Regions from separate parts of the Homo sapiens genome. Here all the other regions are linked to region 1. Evidence: promoter capture Hi-C in 16 types of primary human blood cells and fetal thymus (Javierre and others, 2016). All regions are on one chromosome and are shown on one strand. The core of a region is centred on a gene start or on the middle of the fragment in contact, and the rest is flanking DNA. Distances in the headings are between cores, read along the strand shown.

Region 1 (2,789 bases), core at 126-2,625:
ATGTAGCTGGTGTGCTGAAGGAATAGCAAGGAAGCCACATGAAGAAACAGGTCAAAGTCACTGGCTCAAGATCCTATGTATTAGCAGCAGAGTTGAATTAGAGCCCTGGCCTCCATCTTCATTGCACTTAGACAACAAAGAATTCGTGCATGGAAAACAGGAATGTATTTGACCAAGGCCAGTGTTACCAGGGCCATTAGGAGGTCAGAGAAAGGAGAAGTTTATATGGACCCCAGTCAGGTAGAAAATACTTCACCCCAAAATTTACAGCATCAATAAGATTTGTAATGGCCCTCTGCTGTGCATAGAGCTTGTATTAGTGTGTTTTCTTTTCTTTTTCTTTTTTTTTTTTTTGAGACAGAATCTTGCTCTGTCATCTAGACTGGAGTGCAGTCGAATGATCTTGGCTCACTGCAACCTCTGCCTTCCAGGTTCAAGCGATCCTCTTGCCTCAGCCTCCTGAGTAGCTGGGATTACAGTGCCTGCCACCACGCCTGGCTAATTTTTGTATTTTTAAGTAGAGATGGGGTTTCACCACGTTGGCCAGGCTGGTCTGAAACTCCTGACCTCAGATGATCTGCCCGTCTCAGCCTCCCAAAGTGCTGGGATTACAGGTGTGAGCCACTGCATCTGGCCTAGTGTGTTTTTATACTGCTATAAAAAACTACCTGAGACTGGGTAATTTATTTAAAAAAGAGTTTTAATTGACTCAGTTCCACAGGCTATACAGGAGGCATGGCTGGGGAGGCCTCAGGAACCTACAATCATGGAGGAAGGGTGAAGGGTAATGTTAAAGATACATTTTGATCACTTCTAGGACCTTCTGATGTAAAGGCATATTTGTTAAAATCACACCCAGAGCTTTTATTGTAAGGGTACTTTTTTTTTCTTACACTTTCAGAACTTTCCAATGTAAATATGCATTTTGAGTACTTCTGGAATTTTTCATAGTTAAGGTACATTTTCTCTTTTGCAATTAGAAATATGTGGAATAGTTATATTTTTGCACCTTGAGAATATTTGGTTCCTAATCTTTTTTATCTAATGGTTTTAATGCTTCTGAATTTCCTTCCTGATATGTTGTTATGCTGGGGCTATGCAAAATGGTGATATTCTAATGCTATTATTTCTTTTTCATAAATATTTGGCATTCTTTTATAAAGCACATGCCTTTTCTATTCTTTTCATTTTATTTTTAAATGAAAAAGCTGTGTAGCATGTGGATTAGTCACTTCATACAATAGACGTTTGATTAGAAAAGTTGGGCGCAAATGAAATGTAAAAATATGGAGTCATAGCTTATATGTACCATGGTGGTTTACTCTTCAAAGGAATCTTACTGTAAATCTTTTTTTTTTTTTTTTTTTTTTTTTGCAAAGCTAGTAATCACCTCTTAATTTCTGTTATTCTTATAAACCTGAATTTTCATGTAGGGCACATTTATTCAACAAATTATTGAGTGCTTTTTATGTGCCAGACACTGTGGTCAGCACTTGGAATAGAGTAGTAAGCAGAAAAAACATACCTGTCCTTAATGTAGGGTACATCCTTACTGTTAAGAAGACAATGACAGTTGCCCAGAACCCCATGATTGAAGGCAGTTATGAAGCTATGTCTGAGGAATCTTGATTTGGAAGGTATTATAGGCTTTTCCTAACAACCTGGTTCAATAAATGCTTTGAAGTTCAGAACCCTAAGCAACCATTCTCTATGGGTCTGATGAAAAGAATATATGATATAATTGGCAGTATCCTCCTGATGTCTTTCTAATGTAATGTCAAATTATGATTGCAGAGCCCTTTCCTCAACGTGAAATTTTGCCTAATTTTTTGTCTTAGGATATTTCCTAATATTTCTAGGGTCCACACCTCCATAAGACATGTGCCAGAGGCATGATTCAGAGGCTCCTGAGACCTTGAGGATTCAGAGCTGTTGTGAGGACATCACCAGGCAAGCCTTGCTTCAGTTACTAGATTCCGTCTGGACTGGGTAGGAAAGAAATGCCACTTTCCTGGCATTATCAATGAAGTTAATGGAAGAGCAGAGAATTTCTAGAAGTTCTGAAAAGGCTTTGAGGCTTGTGACAATCTACCATAGCTCAAACTTGAGGAGACCACCTTTCATAAGATGGATTCAAATACAATACCTGCGCTGAAAGACTTTTTTTTGCTCCTGCTTTTGGGTTGGCTATGGGACTTGCATCATCTGGCTGAATTGGACCAGCAGTTCAGGGGATGAAGAGAGGTCTCTGCTGCTTCTCAGTCACATGGCATGGCAGAAATTTTCAGCCTTCTGAATCTTCCAAGGAACGGTCAAGTGGCACTTAGCTAGATAAATGTTTACTAGAGGCATCTCTTAAAGAGTTTTCCACCAAAGATAAGTCTTTTTCTTCTATTTACTCTATACTCCAGCAATATCTCCCTACAGATTAGTAAGATGAATGTGTCCACAGTTAGGTGTATACCTGTTTTTAAAGAAAAAAGATGTCTGTTAGTTACACTGCTATGACCTCAGGTTCCAGAATATTAAGGGAACATTCTTTCAAGAGATGTTTCACTTTGGACTAATCCGAAGTTTAGAAACCAGCTTATTGCCAAAGGGAAAAAGGATAGCCCAAAGGACAAGAAAACACTTCTCACTATGAATTGGTTTGGAAGTAACTTCTTCAGGTGTCCTGAGGATCTTTCCTTACTCAACATATACTCACCTCTGTTGTCACACATGTCATCTGAAGATGAACATTTTATTTCCAACTTGAGGTAGGGAATAGGGTGAGTTTTTCCCCTAGC
Region 2 (2,981 bases), core at 284-2,783, 420 kb after region 1:
TGGGACTGCAATGAAGCATTATACTTGCTTTTGTAATGAGTGTTGAGGGTAGGAAAAAAATGGTCATGGAGGAACTTCAATGTGATGAGGTTTAGGTTTGTCCTCTAAATTCTTATCTATGCCAGAGAAGGCTTCTGCAAAGAAGCAATGTCCAAGCTGAGACTTGAAAACATTAGGGTAGAAACTGGGCTCTAGAGAGCAAGAATAACATTTGCAAAGACCTAGCGACTGGAGAGAACATGGCGTATTACATCAGAGAAACCGAAAGTTGTTCAGTATGCCTTATGGAAGAGTGAAAACAGGGAGGTAAGAGGTGGCTTTGGTAATTGAAAGCTTTGGAAGCCTTTGAGGCCATGGGAAGCTACTGAAGCCACATAAGTGGGGAAGTGGTAGGATTAGATTTATATTTCAGAGTAAGAATTCTGACTGCAGTGGAATAAAAGGTTTAGGGGCAAAGCTGAAAACAGAGAGACTAACTGATTCTCTCAATGTATTGGGATAGTGGCAGTCAGGATGGGGACAGGCAGAAGAATGGCAGAAATATTTTGGAAGTAGAAGCAACAAGACTTGATGATTAATTGGATGTGGACAGTGAGGGAGGAAGATAAATCAGAGACCAACAGCCCAACTTTCTTCATATCTGTCTTATACCCCAACCTTGGTCTGGACTTTGAAGCCTCCTTCCATCTTCAGTTTTTCCTAAAGCTGTGACCTCAAATCCTGGCATTGACCTTAGACTCCATGATGACTGTTATTGCCTTAGTGGTGCCAACAGCACCCATGACTACAATCTGTACTCCAAATGCTGGTGCTGGTCATTACCTGCCCCCAGGATTGGTTCATCCATGTGTTTCCTTCCTGAATATACAGCCACAGGATGATAATGGTGGTTAAGAGCAGGGACTTTAAGTGGGATGGATTTAAGTTCAAGTCCCAGCTCTTCACTTACTCTTAGTTTGACCTTTGGCAAGTCACTAAACATCTCTGAACCTCATATTTTCTCATCTGTGAAATAATAACAGAACAACTATGAGGATTAAATGAAAGCATGAATGTGAAGCACAGTGCCTGCACATGGGCAAGCACAAAATGAAAGCTAACCAAAGAGAGGAACAAGGAAACAATAAGAAGAGAGTGATAGGTTTTAGTGGGGTTTTTTTCCTTTCTCTCCCACGACCTACAGTCTGAAACAACACAGGATAACAAAAGCATCCATTTGGATAGAGAGGAAGAGGAAGAATCTCTTTTAGCAGGATTTCATGAAGGAGGTCCACAAAGAAGAGTTTATTCTGATTGCGTAAAAGTTCAGATTGGTTTGTTGAGCCTGGACTAGAACCAAAGCTAGGGCCCAGCCCATCGAGGCTTCTTTCACCCCTGGACTATTGACTCTTTTCATGTCATTTTTCTCCTCTACATACATGTTCTTCCTCATTGTCTTTGTTCAAATCTCAGTCACCATTAACTCTCTTATCCTTCCCCCTCCTGCTCTTCCCCTTTTGTCTCTTTTCACAAGGTAGCTCTAAAGCATCTCTGTATTTGTCCGGTTCCAGGCATGGCAGGATGTAGAAGTTAACATTTGTTGGAGACTGTTTTGCTTCCTGGAATCTCCCCTCTAGAAAACTTTGTGTCGCTCTGCTTACAAACCTGGTATATCCCTGAGTAGAGGCAGTGCTATTAAAACTCAGTAATAATAATAATACCAATAAGCAATGTGCATCAGTGCACTCTGCTGTTCTATACAATCAGCAGCTCGTTCTACTGGCCAGTGACCAAGCAGCCCCCTTTGTGATTGGTCAGCTCCATGCCATACTGGTCGTTATAGGTTGAACTGTGTTCTCCCTCTCTCCTACAATTCATGTGTTGAAGCCCTAAACTCCAGTATCTGAGAGTATCTGTATTTGGAGATAAGGCCTTTTAAGAGTGATAAAGGCAAAATAAGGGCATTAGGGTGGGCCCTAATCCAATGTGACTAGTGTGCTTTTAACAAGAGGAAATGTAGATATGCAGAGAGATACTAGGGATGCATGCACACAGAGGAGAGGCCATGTGAGGACATAGCGAGAAGGTGGCCATCTGAAAGTCTAGGAGAGAGTCCTCAGAAGAAACCAAACATCCTGACATCTTGGTTTTGGACTTCTAGCCTTCAGAACTATGAGAAGATAAAGTTTTATTATTTAAGCCATCCAGTTTGTAGTATTTGGTGCAGTAGCCCTAGCACACCAGTATACTGGTTATGATATTTTTTGGACTATCATGTTCAATAATAACAGTTTTGTTGATTGCTGAATCTATTCTAGGGGTAGTATAGAACACATCATTACATCTTTAGTCACTATCTAGGTATTATCCTTATTTTGCAAATGGGAGAACTCAGGCTTGAAGAAGAAAATGACTTACCTAAAGTCAAAGTCACAGAGCTAGTAAAGGACAAATTCAGGCTCAAATCTAAATCTTTCTGACACCAGTACCTAGGTTCTTAACTGTTCTGTACTACCTAGAAATACTGGTCTTCTCTGACTGCTTTCACCCAATATAAACAATGCTCTGTATTTTTCTCTGTGGCTCTCTGGTCTTTTTTCCCCTTTGGAGCATGAGCTACAATTTAGAATCATAAATTAATTATGTGATTATTTTCTCAATGCCTTCCTCCCCTGCTAGTCCCATGATGTAACACTGTGCTTATAATCATGAAGATGATGTTAGTTTTGGAACCAGCAGTGTTGAAAAGCTTCTTGATTTTTATGCCAAGTGAAAGCCAGCCAGCCCTTTGCATATGGTGAAATGATCAACCTCGATGGTCATTGGCAAGTAACAGGAACCGCTGCTGGGCTCTTTAATTTATACCTTGATATTGTACACATGTGGCCTCAGGAAGGGAGCGTGTCACCTAACCTTCCCACATGGTGAATACCAGCATTTCCCTCCTCATGGCTGCTGTCATGAAGAGCCCTGCCTGGTCTGGCATTCTCGGACTTGTTTTT
Region 3 (2,700 bases), core at 149-2,648, 400 kb after region 1:
TGGTTACAGCCCAGTGAGCTCACATCCAGAAACCCCCTTGAAATGATGTTTCATCAGGGAGAACTTTAACCACAAAACCTGCTTCTGAACCAACTGAGGAAGACACCTCAGGTACTGTGACTCTAATTCTGGGGCAGTTGTTGAATAAAATATGCCATGACTTTATGGATTTATTTTCTCTCTAAGTTGCATGAGTAAAATGAGTCTTGTGATTTTGTAAAACGTAGCTGTGAAAGAGACCTGAAAATTTGAGACTTGCTGGGAAGAGTTCTTTATGCACTCAGGTGTGGAGGACAGGTGCAGGGGAAATTTGTTGTGTGATGCTCCAGTACCCATTCCTGTCTTCTCCCTTTCTCCCTCTAACTATATCTTGAACATCTCTCTTTTCTATATGATTTTGGTGTGGAGTTGATCTGTCACAAAGTTCAAGGATTAGACTGTAATGGACCTAAGCCAATTTATATCTTCTTTCCCTAGCTGCAGTTATTAGTTTGGGTTTAGTCAAATGTCCCATTTCAAGACAATGAAAGGGATCCCAAGACCTGGCTATGTGCTGTTGGAACTGACATTTTCTTTTCCCTGGAGCATTTAGGGTTAGCATGTGTGGCTTGAAACTGGGGCAGCTATTTGGTTGTCATAAGAGTAAAGCTGAAGCTACTGTGTGTATTTGGGGCATGTCTACCACATGGAATCTGATGATGGAACAATCCCTATGGAAGGGAGAGCTAAGAGACAGAAGGAAGATGAGACATCAAGGGTATTTGGTAATAATGTCTAAACTGCTGAATCAACGAAGTTCACTTAAAGCCCACTCTGACTCTGGATCAATTGCTTAAGGCATTTCAGCTGAGTTTTAAACACTTTGCATAAAAATTCCTATCTGATACAATTAATATTACTAACTCTCTGCTCTGAATAGATTGTGTTTGCTTGGTAATTTGTCTGGCTTCTTCCAAAGACTTAGTATACTTGACACTTGATGGCCAATGGGTGCTGCACAGACCAGTAAATGGTGAATCTAGCTTCCAACTTGGACCCAGCTTTCTGTTTGCATGTCTAGTGTGCATTTTTGTTAGGGTTGAGAGTTGAGTAATTGCTTTATTTGATAGTATTTGCTGTGTTTTAATAGAAAGGGAAATAATTATATATCAATCTGCTAAATGACTTTCTTTCCTCCTTAAGATCTACCTTTAACATTTTTTTCTAGTGATTGTGGAACTCAAGCCCACATAGAAGTGGTATCTTCTCTGACTTTTGGCTGCTGAAGTTTTATTAGGGGTGCCCTGGTAGGTAGGGAGTCTTGATTAGTCTGTATCACTTAAGATAATTCCTTTCCCTATGTGCTTCTTGGTTTAGAAGCAGCCAAATTTTTGTGACCTCATTTTGGCCAATTGACACAAAACATGAATTGGAAGTCTGCTGGGCATGGGGGTGCTTCAGGCAAGTTTCTTAACTAGTTAGAGAACAGAAGACCCGAATGTCATTGAATTGCTTTACCTCTTGCCTTCTTGTGTGAGATTTTAAGCTAGCTGTCAGAGTTTTTTTCTTTCTTTCTTAATTTATGTCAAAGAAAGCATCCTGATGCATTTTGCAAGGACCACATGAAGTAGGGAATTGTTGATTTCCCCAAGGAGGGATCCAAGAGCCAAAATAAGAAAAAAGAAACAGAGAAAAGAAAAACACATTTAACCCATCTACTATAGTTCCTTTACTTTTATCTTGATGTCCTATTTCTCTGTGCATGATTCTACCTTCAGACACAGATGAGACAAGGAGTGGTCTGTGTGATGACTAGATTTGAAGGGCTGTTTTGTGCAAAGTAGTGGTGCTTGAACACCATACTCAGATGATCATAAATTTGCTAGCTCACTCTCATACATACTTATGAAAATATCCTTTTTATAAGTGTTTATAGGGATGGCATTAAAAATACTTAAGCATTACAGTAATACGCTAATGTATAAATCAATATATTAATAAAAACATTAAATATATATATATGTGTGTGTGTGTATATATATATTTTTTTTTTTCCTGAGACAGAGTTTTGCTCATTGCCCAGACTGGAGTGCAATGGCATGATCTCAGCTCACCACAACCTCCACCTCCCAGGTTTAAGCATTTCTCCTGTCTTGGCCTCCCGAGTACCTGGGATTACAGGCATGTGCCACCACGCCCGGCTAATTTTGTATTTTTAGTAGAGACAGGGTTTCACCACATTGGTCAGGCTGGTCTTGAACTCCTGACCTCAGGTGATCTGCCCACCTTGGCCTCCCAAAGTGCTGGGATTACAGGGGTGAGCCACTGCGCCCGGCCTTCAATGTATATTTTATAATTCTCTAATCTAAATTATTAAACTGCTTACCAAGTGATACAAGCTGAAATGCACATAGTTCATTAAAAAGATAATGATTTACAGGTCATTTATTGATTTTTAGAAATTGTTGCTGTGATTTGTTGATGGCATAGTTGTCAAATGCTAAGTGACACCTTGTGGTTTGACACAGGGAATTACATCAAACTCCTCCACCAACCTCTTTGCTCATTTGTTGGTCGATAGTCATTAGGAGACTTGCATTCTCAAAAAATAGAGAATTTCTTTTTAAAATCAATACTATTGTTCAGGGTCCTGAGGCCTTTTTCAGCTTCTGCTGAACTAAGCAATTACATTAATTTTTTTCTAGATTTTATAATGTTGTC
Region 4 (2,968 bases), core at 293-2,792, 360 kb before region 1:
CTTTTTTATTTTTTTCAGCTGAAAAAACTAAGCTTAGTTGGTACTCTATAAAAATTAAAAATAGTAACAATAAACTATTTTCCCCACTAAAGGACAGGAAAAAAATTTCTCCTACCTCTGAGACTAAAAGTAAAATTAAACTCCTGGGTTTGTATACAATTTAACTATGTTCACACAAGCAAACAAAAATAGTGTCAATTATTGAAAAGTACCTTTATTTCTTAATTACTATTTTATATAAAGAATAAAGTAAACTTTCTATTAACTTTTAAACTAAAATAAAAACATTGGATCATGAAAGCATGTTGAATAAAGTTATATGTATAATTTTATTTTCCCTAATGTTGAAAGAAAGCAATGGAAAAATTCATTTGGTTAAGGAAGTTACAGCATGGATTAAGTTTAATCAGTATAAATACTGCCATCTGCAGGAGCACTGAACCTACTAAACTCAGCACAGGAAATTCAATTCTTATGAATATACGAACTTTACTCTCAAAGACTGTTCTCCAAAACCATCTTCCAATAAATAATTTTAACTATACAACTTATGCAGAAGAAAATCAAATCTATTCATACATAGGCTTAACCACCATTATTAAAAATCAGTTGGGCTCGCAGAACTCTTCTATTTGACTATCAACATACAGACCATATAGAAAGGTCCTGTGTTTCTTCTCATGCTAAAAAGATACACTGAAGTTTCTCTCAAAGTGATTACATGCAGATTGTGAATACTCGCAAAATAAAAATCTAAATTTTTAACCTTTTTTTTTAGAGGGAGCTTTTGTTCAATTTTCCTACAACTCTGTCCTCAAATTATTATCTAAGAAATAAGAAAATTCCACTCAGCATTTTGGATGATTCCAATGTCACAGACAGTTAAGTTTCTTAAAATTCCAGATAAGATTTTATAGTTTTAGAAGTAGAACTCCTATAATCCTAGACCCATTTATCCAAACTCCACCCCCTACTCTTGTATTTTACCTAATTCTTCCACTCCTTCCCTTTATCTTGTTTGACCATCCGTTCCTCAATCATCCTCATTAGACCCATACAATACTATTTCAAAGAGAAATTAAGCCTCCAAGACAAATTACATACAAATCCTTCCCATTCACCTTATTGCTGAATTGAATTAAAAGGCAAAAACCAGGAGACACAAATCTCATTGTTTGTAAAACCAAAGATTTGGGGAAGAAAAAAACAAGTCTTCTTTGTCCTTGTTTTTTACTAAACACCTTGTAGGACTGAGTTAAAAGGGAAAATGAGAAAAGTGAACAAATATCAATACCAAAAAGTCTTAATAAACAAACTAATATTTGATGCTAATATATCTTTTTTTTTTTTTTTTTTGAGACAGAGTTTCGCTCTTGTTGCCCAGGCTGCAGTGCAATGGCGCGATCTCGGCTCACTGCAACCTCCACCTCCCAGGTTCAAGAAATTCTCCTGCCTCAGCCTCCCGAGTAGCTGGGCATGCACCACCACGCCCGGCTAATTTTGTATTTTTAGTAGAGATGGGGTTTCTCCATGTTGAGGCTAGTCTCGAACTCCTGACCTCAGCTGATCCACCCACCTCGGCCTCCCAAAGTGCTGGGATTACAGGCGTAAGCCACCGTGCCCAGCCTAATATATCACTTTGTATGACACTCACTCTCTCCAAAGAAATCTTAGACTATCCAATTCAAGTTCTCTTCCAACTGACCCCCAAAATGTCACTAATGGCTACTGTTTATTGAATGACTTCTACTGCCAAACTTCACAGGTACTGCTTCATTTGGTGACTCAAATGGTCACCACCACCTGTCCAAATCTTTTTAATGATGGAGCAAGGATATGCTTGCTCCATATGACATCAAAATATGTCATCATATTTTGGGGAAAATATGACATCAAAATGAAGCTAGAGCCAGAGGGATTTTATTGTGAGAAACTTCTACTTTCTATAGAAATACATTTTGCTATTGTGTACCTTTCATCCATTAGTCCTAATAAGAACCTCTAAAGAAAAGCAAAAGTTGTTCAAATGACAGCCTTTCAAAATACTTCAACAACATTATCATGCTACCTCTCAATCTTCCCTCTACAAAATGAGCAACCCCAACTCCTTGAGATCACTCAGAATCCACGATCTGGTCTTAATACTGTCCTTAACCCTAAAGCAGACCAAAATTACAAAAAGAGGTTGTGACAAATATCAGGCTATTCTCCATCTATGATTTAGTTTTCCCAGAAAAATTACACATAGAGAAAAGTATCCAGCTGCTTGTCTTAAATTTAATCTAGAAAAGGGATAATCCCTAATAGTAGGGAAAACATCTTTTGTTTTCTTTTTAAATGATTTGAATTTCTTAAACACCACATAATGGGCATTTAATTATCTAACACTACATCAACAATGTATACAAGGTTTTCCAAATTAAAAAAAAAACCTGAAATTTTTGGTTTCTTTCTTGACAAGGTATATCTGAAGGTGTCCTTTTCAGAGTGGTCACAAAGAAAAAGACAACCAGTGCAATAGTGATAATTAAGATGTGTGCAAATCTAAGAAATAGCTGTATCACAACTGTATTCTTACACAGAAAGGAGTATAAGAAAGTAGCAATAAGTGGATGGAATGTGAACTTGAGAGACAAGAGGCCTAAGTTCTATTCATCTTTGCTACAAACTAGCCCTGTGAACCTGACCTCTCTAAGGTACCAATACTTTCAACTATAACACAAGGAGAATGAACCATGGATCAAGGATTAAATGTGTTTGACAAAAACTAATGCATTCAAATTTGGAATGCCCAACACTATCATTTTTAAACCCTATGGTAAGAATTCCACTCCACAATATTTCTTAATTCTTTCTCTAGTTTTAATGACTTCTCTTAAGACAATATAACACATTAATTCACCATAACAATTTAAACTTTTAAATGATGCACATTATGCTTTACTTCATAATTGTTACAAGGGAACCT
Region 5 (2,813 bases), core at 147-2,646, 400 kb before region 1:
ACAGTCCAGTACTAGATACCGTTTGTCATTCTGTAAAATTTTTTCTACATCTTTCAGGTGCTGATCTGATTCTTGGATTAATTTTTTGGATCTGAAATAAGAAAAAGAAGTCCAAGAATTACTGACTGCTGTTCACAGGTCTTTCAGAAATGAGCTGGAAATGTCCATCTAGTTCCTAATTGTGTTTCCATTTTTTTTTTTTTTTTTTTTTTTAAGAAAAATTTCACGGCAGTGGTCACCTTTGTAAGTCGCCTCAGCAAAGACTCCAAGGAGTGAAAGGGCCTCAGAAGCTGAATTACCCTCCCACCCCTAGTGGTGGTCCCTCCAGATCAGGGCTGAGGGTGGGTGGGTAAATCTTGCCCGTGCTGTACCTGTTCTGTGGATGAACAGAGGACTTCAGTCTGCGGGGCTGCCAATCCCAGCATCTTTCACAAGCTTTCACTTTCACATCTTTCACTAAATTAACTATAAAAATGTAGAAAGAAGTCTTACTTCACATCTAATTTAAAAGCCCAAGCTGATGCAAAACATTAAGGATCCTGACCAAAAAATCCAAATGACAAAATATCTAAAAACCACACCCTCAGCACTATCTAGCCTCCCGTGCACATACCCTTTATTAAGATGTTTCAAATTTCTCTCTTAAAGAAGAAAAGCTGGAGCATGAAACAAAAATGGTTTCCTGCATACTGACTGGTAAGCAATGCGAAATTGTTTTCCTGATGATAAATTGTTAGGGGTGAAGAACTGTTGGGTTTGCTACAGAGAAATCTTGTTTAAAGGCTCTGATTTCATAATTTACAATTTTTATTTAAATGTACCCAGCAAAATGCTTTCCTCTGAGGGAAAAAAAAATGTTTATGCTGAGCTTAAATAGATGATTTCATGCTTTAGAATGATCTAACCACACTGAATAGTCTTCAGAGGAGGCAAAGATAACTGATAGTGAAAGATTATTTTAAAAGTCTCTTCATGAAATACAATTCTTATATAGTTGAGGGTATTCCTAAAAAAAGCGGTGAAGTAAAAAAAAAAAAAAGGTATGTATTCAAAACTGGATGGGTGGGTAACACAAAATAAGAATTGACATCTGGGCCCTTTCTTTAAAAAAAAAAAAAAGTATGGTAGATATGGGCTGTATTTGACTTTGGACAGAAGTTGGTATCTTCTTATCCCTAAAAATTAATAATGTCAACATGTGTGTGAATGCAAAGAATGCTCTGACCATTAGAGTAAAGACTAGTAAAGAGAATGACTGCCAATATGAAACATTTCATTGCACACACCTATATGTTATAAATTTGGTCTCTTTCAAAAGCGTCCTGAAGTCAGCTTTGGCTGTGATATATTTGTCTCTGATATATTCTTCAAATTCTCTTTGTTTTTTCTGTTAATAAAAAAAAAAAAGTTGAGATTATGGAAATAAAACCCACTAATTCCAAAATAAACATCAATTATTTATTAAACAGTAATGTGTAAGTCACATAATAAAATTTAAAATTCAAAAGAAAAAGGCAACAGGGTACATTTTGTTCATATATAAAATTCATTAAATCACAATTTGCAAGGCTCATTTTTGCGGCAAATAGAAAGAATGAGGAATCATAAATTAGTAGTGGCTAAAACTTGAGAACTTGCTATGTGCTACACTGCTGAGCATTTTATGAGGATCATCTACTTCAATCTTCACAACAACCTCATGAGGTGGACACTTAAAAATAAGGATATTAAGGATTAAGTGTTCACTTCCTGCACACTGTATTTTTAACTTCAAGAACAAAAAGAGTAATTTGTGGATACAGCAACTGTAGGTTAACACTCAATACTTAACTTACACAGTAATGAGCATTTAGCTTTCTGGCAAGCCAAAAGTAATAAGATGAATAAACTCTTTGGACTTAAAAAAGACTTTATTATCAATTCTAAACAGTCAGAAAAGTTAGAAACTGAGACTGGGTCTACCCCTCTTTCCCAGTCATGCATATTTTATGGTCCAAACATCTACAATCCAATAGACTTTGAGGGGGAAGAATATTAGATTTATGAGTTTTTATAAAAGATGCCCAGACCTACAGAAACCAACCAGGAAAGGGGAATGATGTAAAAGAAAACAAATAAAAGGCCTAGGGATAAAATGGACTGTAGTAAACAACACTTTTCTTGACATCATTCACTGTTTCAGACCTTGAAGCATATGAGAACTAGCGATCTCATTACAGGGCTCTGTTTGGCTTAAGAGTCAAGTGCTTTGATAGTTTGGTACCAATTGCCAGCCTAAATATGTCTGTCTAGTGGTACCTGACTAAAATAAAACTGCAGCTTCATTAAATTTCTAAGATCCTAAAATACAAGCTTCACCCCAAGTACTAAAATTTTAAACTTTCTATTGTGCTGTCTTGCTAATTTATCATGCAAGAAACAATACATAAACTTAAAATTCAGATTTACTTCTCATACACTTAAAAGTAATTCACTTAAAACAATCAACTTCATTTTGGTTAAGATAGTAGTGCTGTTAGGCCCCGATTTAAGTATTTATAGACTGACAGTAAATCTCGACACAAAATCCTCTTACCCTGTCACTGGAGGAGAACTTAATACATCGAGGATCTTCCTTAATGATTTTTTTTACTTCTTTCCACGTGGATGTTAAGGTAATCTTTGAAAAGACATGAATAAAAAACATAAATACAACTCACTTTTACTTAGGGAGTCAAACTGCAGCACATAGGTACATAATATTACACACTGACCTGCGATCTCTTGTAATGCCCAAGCGTAACTGGACTAGTTAGGGACAGGGAAGCAGCGTT
Region 6 (2,881 bases), core at 41-2,540, 420 kb before region 1:
GATATTGCAACAGATTGAATGCAAAAGCAGATAAGAGAATCTAGCTCCATTCTGTCAAGCCAGATGTTAATGAGATCTGCAAAAACATAAAACAATTTCACTCTTCTTACTAAATGTTTTTGTTTTAGGAAGTGTAGTTCTTTCTAATGAAAGTATTACTTATATTAACATGTAATGGGTTGGATACTATTGTTTTAAAATCAGTTAATATTTTAAATTTTCCTCAGCTTTAGGTTCTAATAAGGTAAATATTAATACATATAACTCACATAAACAAAAGCTCTTTGGGATCCTCAATAATTTTTAAGAGTGTAAAGGGGTCCAAAGGCCAAAATATTTGAGAACCACAATTTTAAACAGTTTTTCTTGTTCTTTTCTAGATTATGCAAGCTCTCTGAAAATTGATTTCATTAGAAAGCATCCTTTCTGCGATAATCAATAATCCAAATAGTGGGTCCGGGGTTCAGAATTCAGCCCTCCAAACTACTACTCCCAGCAGGCCTCAATATCCTGCCTCCACTTGCCAAAGCCACAGTCTTTAGTTCTTCAGTTGAGATAGTCCATTCCAATATACTTGCTCAAACACCATGCTTTATAGTGATTATAATAACCAAAAGTGAAACAGGAGAACTCCCCAACCCCTCTTGCAGGACATGTGACAGGGGTGTGGCTTGTGGGCTCAAATCCCTTACAGGAGGGGAAGCACACAGATCGGCAGGTGCAGGAGCCAGAGTGAGTGCCCCTGGGCTCTGGCCCCATGGTAGCATCTAGGGGTGGGTGACTGCAACTCCCAAAGCCCAAGTGGGCCTGGCTTTTGTTACAGTTTAGCCTTGCCATCCATGGACGGCTTAAGTGTTAAACAGCTCAGTGCCTCTTGGTACCCAGGTCCTTGTCTGGCATCCAGGAAGAATCAGGTCGCACATGGACTTGCAGGATGAATGTGGAAGTTTTACTGAATGGTGAAGGTGGCTCTCATTGGGATGGATGGGGAACTGGAAGGGGGATGGAGTGGGAAGATGATCTTCCCCTGACGTTTGGCCATCCAGCGGCTGATCTCCTCTCTGACCGTCCCCGGCCAAACTCCTCTCAGTGTTCAGACATTCCTTCTCTTTTCTCTTGCACGCTGTTCTGCCATTCCCCTGTTCATCTCCTCATCTGCTTGTGGAGCCTGGAGTTTGGGGTTTATATGGGTACAGGATGGGGTGGGGTGTGGCAGGCCAAAAGGCAACTTTTGGGCACAAAATCAGGAATGCCTGTTCCCATTAAGGTTGCAGGTTTCCATGCTTGAGAGTGAGGTGTTTGCCAGGGAACTGCCCTCTTCTACCCAGTATTCGCCTGTCTCCTGTCTGTTTCAAAAATGTCAGTTTTTAACAGTTGATGAGCGCGTACCATTTGGCAGGTGTTTATCCTTCGTGATCTCACTAATGAATTCATGAACGGTGCTTCAGCATTGCCTGAAATGTGGTAAACCCTCATTAAACATTAGCAATGATGGTGATGGCAGTGGTGATGGTGGCCTTACAAGAATCCCATGAGAAATGTATTAATATCATTCCTCACTTGTAGCTGAGGAAACTGAGGCCCAAAAATGTAACTTCCCAAATAGAGTGTGTAAATTCCCACACTCTAGTCAGTGGCAGAGCTGGGATTCCAACCCAATAAGTCTAAGGTCCATGTGCCAAACACTTCCGCTCTGCTGTGCACCAGAGAATCTCACACTTTGCCAGGGAGATGAATCGGCTGAAGTTTTTGTGAAATTCAGATTCTGATTCAGGAGGTCTTGGGTGGGGCCTGGGATTCTGCATTTCTAACAAGTGTCCAAGCAGTGCGGACGCCACTGGTTCTGAAACCACAATTTAGGAGAGGGTTGTACACCTCCTCTCTCACAGACATCCTGAATCATTTTTTATCTATGTGTTCATTTTCCTCTGCCTATAATACTCAAATATGCTTATGCTAATTAAAAATATTTTCCATTTTTTTTTTTTTTTTGAGATGGAGTCTCGCTCTGCCGCCCAGGCTGGAGTGCAGTGGCGCTATCTTGGCTCACTCCCAGGTTCACACCATTCTCCTGCCTCAGCCTCCCGAGTAGCTGGGACTACAGGCACCCGCCACCATGCCTGACTAATTTTTTGTATTTTTAGTAGAGAAGGGGTTTGACCGTGTTAGCCAGGATGGTCTCGATCTCCTGATCTCATGATCCACCCACCTCAGCCTCCCAAAGTGCTGGGATTACAGGAAAAATATTTTTCAATAGCTCCATCCATGTCCCATTCAATTACAGTCCCTAGCTTTCTCTCAACCTCTACTTTTATATGCTACTCACTGTGACCACAAACTGCCCTCCGAACACCAAATTCAGTTTTTCTCCATCAGCTGAACAATCAGCATTTTCAGTTATCACAAGGGGGCAGTGCCCACTAATCAACGGTTCAGACTCGGCAGCAGCATCTCAGTAGAGCTGTGGAATTGTGCAATTACATGAACATATTATTTTAAATGACTAGAAATGAGGAAAATACAAATAAATGAGAATGCAAAGTTATACATACTGTATGAGCACTAATGAGGATTTGGGGCTGAATGGATCCCTCGTTTTATTCATGATAATTGTCATATTCCTTGCAAATGCACAAAACATTGGCAGTCATTAATTATGCATATGTCTGACACTTGAAAGTTTGCAGACATCTTCAACTACACTACCTCGTACAATCAATGGCTTCCTTTTACCTGTATAGATTATGAACTCTTCGTGAGCCATACCTCAGACTTCCATTGCTTCCACTGTGTTAATAATAGAAAAATCTAAAACCTTGATTTATCTGATTCATCAAATATCTTCCCTCTCTCCCTGCCTTGACTTGCCTTTTACAAGAAA
Region 7 (2,883 bases), core at 353-2,852, 380 kb before region 1:
GTAATTAACAGGAAAGAGAAAAAGTTGAAGAACCAATCCATGAAGGCAAATTCAAATTCTGTCCCAGAATGAAAAAACAGAGAAAACTGGAAACAAATTTTTTAAAGTAACACAAGAGAATTTCCCGTAACTAAAAGAGCTGAGTTTCCACACTGAAAAGGTCAGCCAAGTACTGAGCACAATAGACCCTTCCTCTAGGAAAAATACCACTATGGCATTTCAGAATACTAGGGACTAAGAGAGCTACATACTTATAGAGAAAGAAAAACAGATTCACATATAAAGGAATAGGAATGGCTTCAAAAACAACGAACACTAGAAGCAGAGCAATGCCTTTAGCTAGCCAAACAATTCCAAATAAGGGTACAATAAGGGTTTTTCCAAGTATGTTAGGCCTCAAATAAACTTTCCCTGCACATTCTCTCAAGAAGCTACAAAAAGGAAAAGACTTACTATGTAGGGAACAGCTCTATGAACATCTTTATAACAAGTACAACAAAATGTTCCAAAATACCTTCGACATCTTCCCAAGTCAATCCACATATGTCTACCAATCTTCATCCACTGGGTGTCTTGGAACATATCCTCCACAGATAAGGAGGGACTACCATATCTGTGATTACCTGACCAGTCCCCTGCTAGACATGTAAGTCATCTTCAATTTCCTCTAAGTATAGCATTGCAGAAAACCTTTTGAAAGTATTTGCATGCTGAAGAGAGGGAGAAAGTTGTTTCCAACTCCCTTCTCAGTATATACTTACTTATAAATAAAATATTAAATGATACCTAAAATTCAAGGGAATTTGTATTAACTTTCCTTTGAGAATCTAGAAAGAACTTCGTATTCCCTCTGCTGGGCTACCCCAGACCAAGGTTAGGAATCACTCTCTAAGATTAATATCTCATAGAAAATTAGGGGTTGTGTTATGCTTCCAAGTTGCTCCTAATTTGTGTCATGCTTTCCAATACGCTTGGCTTTATGTTCCCTATGTTAAGTGGTTATTTTCTGATAACTTCAACTCATGAACAAAATTTCATAATACAATGAAAATGAGTAAATTTTAAAAATAATTCTGTTAAGTTCACTTTTATAGGCATGAACAAAAATGTATATTAAGGGGCTATACCCTTTAAGCCTTCAAGGCAGCTCTGGAGTGCTTGGAATGTTCCATTTTTTGGATCATGATATATTCATTTTGTGAAATTTCACTTATGATTTTATCTTTTCTGTTTCAAAATACATTTACTAAAAGTAAGTCTCCATTATTTGATTCTCATATTTTTAATTTCACACTGATTCAATGACAAATTATTCAGTAACAGTGGCCCAGATGGTTGACAATTCCGAGTAATCATGTTGGTAACATATTACCATACTGTAATACTGTCAATATTAAAAAGCTCTGAATAACAAATGAGATATTTAAAAGTTTATTTTGGTGTTTTCTCTTAGAGTTCAAGGGCAGGGATTTTTTTAATTGACAAATAATAATTGTACATATTCATGGGGTTACTGTGTTTCAATACATGTGCAATCGAAATGTGTTTAAATACATATCATGTAGTGATGAGATCAAGGTAATTAGCATATCAATCTCAAACATTTATCATTTGTGTTGGAAAAACGTTTAATATCCTCCTTCTGGCTACTCGAAACTACTTACTATTGTTAACCAGTCATCCTACAGGGCTACACAACGCCAGGACTTAATCTTCCTATCCAGTTTTAATTATGTATCCTTTAACAAATCTCTTCCTATCCTCCCAAGTTCTCCCTACCCCTCTCAGCCTTCAGTAGCCTCTGTTCTACTTTTGACTTCTATGACATCAACTTTCTTTTGCTTCCACATGTGTGAAAACATAAGATGTTTATCTTTCTGTTCTTGGCTTATTTCACTTAACATGACTTCCAGTTCCATCGATGTTGCTGCAAATGACAGGATTTCATTCTTTTTTATGGCTAACCACATTTTCTTTATCCAGTCATCTGTTGTTGGACACCTAGGTTGATTCTGTATCTTGGTTACTGTGAACAGTGCTACAGTAAACATTAGGGTACAGATATCTCTTCAATATAATGATGTCTTTTCCTTTCAATACATACCTGATAGGGGGATTGCTGGATCATATCGTTGTTCTGTTTTTAGTTTTTCGAGGAACCTCCATACTGTTTTCCATAGTGGATATACTAGTTTAAATTCTAACCAACAGTATATAAAGAGTTCCCTTTTCTGAGTATCCTTGCCAGTATTCGTTATTTCTTCCTCTTTTATGTAAGTCATCCTAACTGAGTGAGACACCTCACTGCTGTTTTGATTTGCATTTCCCCAATGATTAGTGATGTTGAGCATTTTTTCATATATTTATTGGCCATTTGTATGTTTTGAGAAATGTCTGTTCAGATCATCTGCCCATTTGTTAGTAAGATCTGTTTTTTTCTGTTGGGATGACTGAGTTCCTTGTACATTTTGGACATTTAATTCCCTATCAAATAAGTAGTTAGCAAATATTTTCTCCCATTCTGTAGGATGTCTTCACTGTTGTTTCCCTTGCTATGGAGAACTGTTTTAATTTGATGTAACCCCATTTGTTTATTCTTGCTTGTGCTTTTGAGGTCTTATTTGTAAAATCTTTTCCCAGTCAATGTCTGGAATTATTTCCTCTATGGTTTTTTTCTAGTAGTTTTATCATTTCAGGTCATATATGTAGGTCTTTGATCTATTTTGAGTTGATTTTCAGATAGGCTAAGAGGTGGGGTTCTAATTTCATTTCTTCTGCATATAGATTTCCAGTTTTCCCAGCATCATTTATTGAAGAGACTGTTCTTGCCACAGTGAGTGTTCTTGGCACCTTTGTCAAAATAAGTTGCCTATAGATATATGG

What was found. The method cuts DNA at HindIII sites, captures the fragments that hold promoters and counts their contacts. A CHiCAGO score of 5 or more calls a contact.
Region 2: a contact is called between a fragment that was not itself captured here and the fragment with the promoter of PLAC8L1 in region 1, in 3 of 17 cell types (erythroblasts, megakaryocytes and M0 macrophages). The highest score is 8.4, in erythroblasts.
Region 3: a contact is called between a fragment that was not itself captured here and the fragment with the promoter of PLAC8L1 in region 1, in 1 of 17 cell types (erythroblasts). The highest score is 7.5, in erythroblasts.
Region 4: a fragment that was not itself captured here is called in contact with the fragment with the promoter of PLAC8L1 in region 1 in 7 of 17 cell types (non-activated CD4 T cells, monocytes, activated CD4 T cells and 4 more); the score reaches 7.6 in non-activated CD4 T cells.
Region 5: a contact is called between a fragment that was not itself captured here and the fragment with the promoter of PLAC8L1 in region 1, in 3 of 17 cell types (naive B cells, activated CD4 T cells and non-activated CD4 T cells). The highest score is 5.7, in naive B cells.
Region 6: a contact is called between a fragment that was not itself captured here and the fragment with the promoter of PLAC8L1 in region 1, in 3 of 17 cell types (non-activated CD4 T cells, total B cells and naive CD8 T cells). The highest score is 6.0, in non-activated CD4 T cells.
Region 7: a fragment that was not itself captured here is called in contact with the fragment with the promoter of PLAC8L1 in region 1 in 2 of 17 cell types (activated CD4 T cells and non-activated CD4 T cells); the score reaches 6.9 in activated CD4 T cells.

Annotation. Positions count from the first base shown.
Region 1 is chr5:146,104,163-146,106,951 of GRCh38, reverse strand. It overlaps PLAC8L1 (PLAC8 like 1), which reads left to right and starts at 1,375. Exons shown (of 4, transcript NM_001029869.3): 1 at 1,375-2,759. The coding sequence starts at 2,641. The HindIII fragment of the contact is 7,482 bases long and covers 1-2,789 here.
Region 2 is chr5:145,682,617-145,685,597 of GRCh38, reverse strand. It overlaps a transcript of PRELID2 not described here. Among named protein-coding and RNA genes, the nearest start is that of PRELID2, 150 kb to the left of the region's middle. The HindIII fragment of the contact is 2,395 bases long and covers 336-2,730 here.
Region 3 is chr5:145,701,386-145,704,085 of GRCh38, reverse strand. It overlaps a transcript of PRELID2 not described here. Among named protein-coding and RNA genes, the nearest start is that of PRELID2, 130 kb to the left of the region's middle. The HindIII fragment of the contact is 9,480 bases long and covers 1-2,700 here.
Region 4 is chr5:146,464,409-146,467,376 of GRCh38, reverse strand. The region is part of intron 5 of TCERG1 (transcription elongation regulator 1); the gene reads right to left. Among named protein-coding and RNA genes, the nearest start is that of TCERG1, 19 kb to the right of the region's middle. The HindIII fragment of the contact is 3,016 bases long and covers 35-2,968 here.
Region 5 is chr5:146,507,719-146,510,531 of GRCh38, reverse strand. It overlaps TCERG1 (transcription elongation regulator 1), which reads right to left. Exons shown (of 23, transcript NM_001382548.1): 21 at 2,576-2,659; 22 at 1,287-1,387; 23 at 1-91. Among named protein-coding and RNA genes, the nearest start is that of GPR151, 7.1 kb to the left of the region's middle. The HindIII fragment of the contact is 1,917 bases long and covers 438-2,354 here.
Region 6 is chr5:146,527,979-146,530,859 of GRCh38, reverse strand. No RefSeq gene overlaps it. Among named protein-coding and RNA genes, the nearest start is that of GPR151, 13 kb to the right of the region's middle. The HindIII fragment of the contact is 4,804 bases long and covers 1-2,881 here.
Region 7 is chr5:146,487,944-146,490,826 of GRCh38, reverse strand. All of the region lies in intron 15 of TCERG1 (transcription elongation regulator 1), which reads right to left. Among named protein-coding and RNA genes, the nearest start is that of GPR151, 27 kb to the left of the region's middle. The HindIII fragment of the contact is 5,317 bases long and covers 1-2,883 here.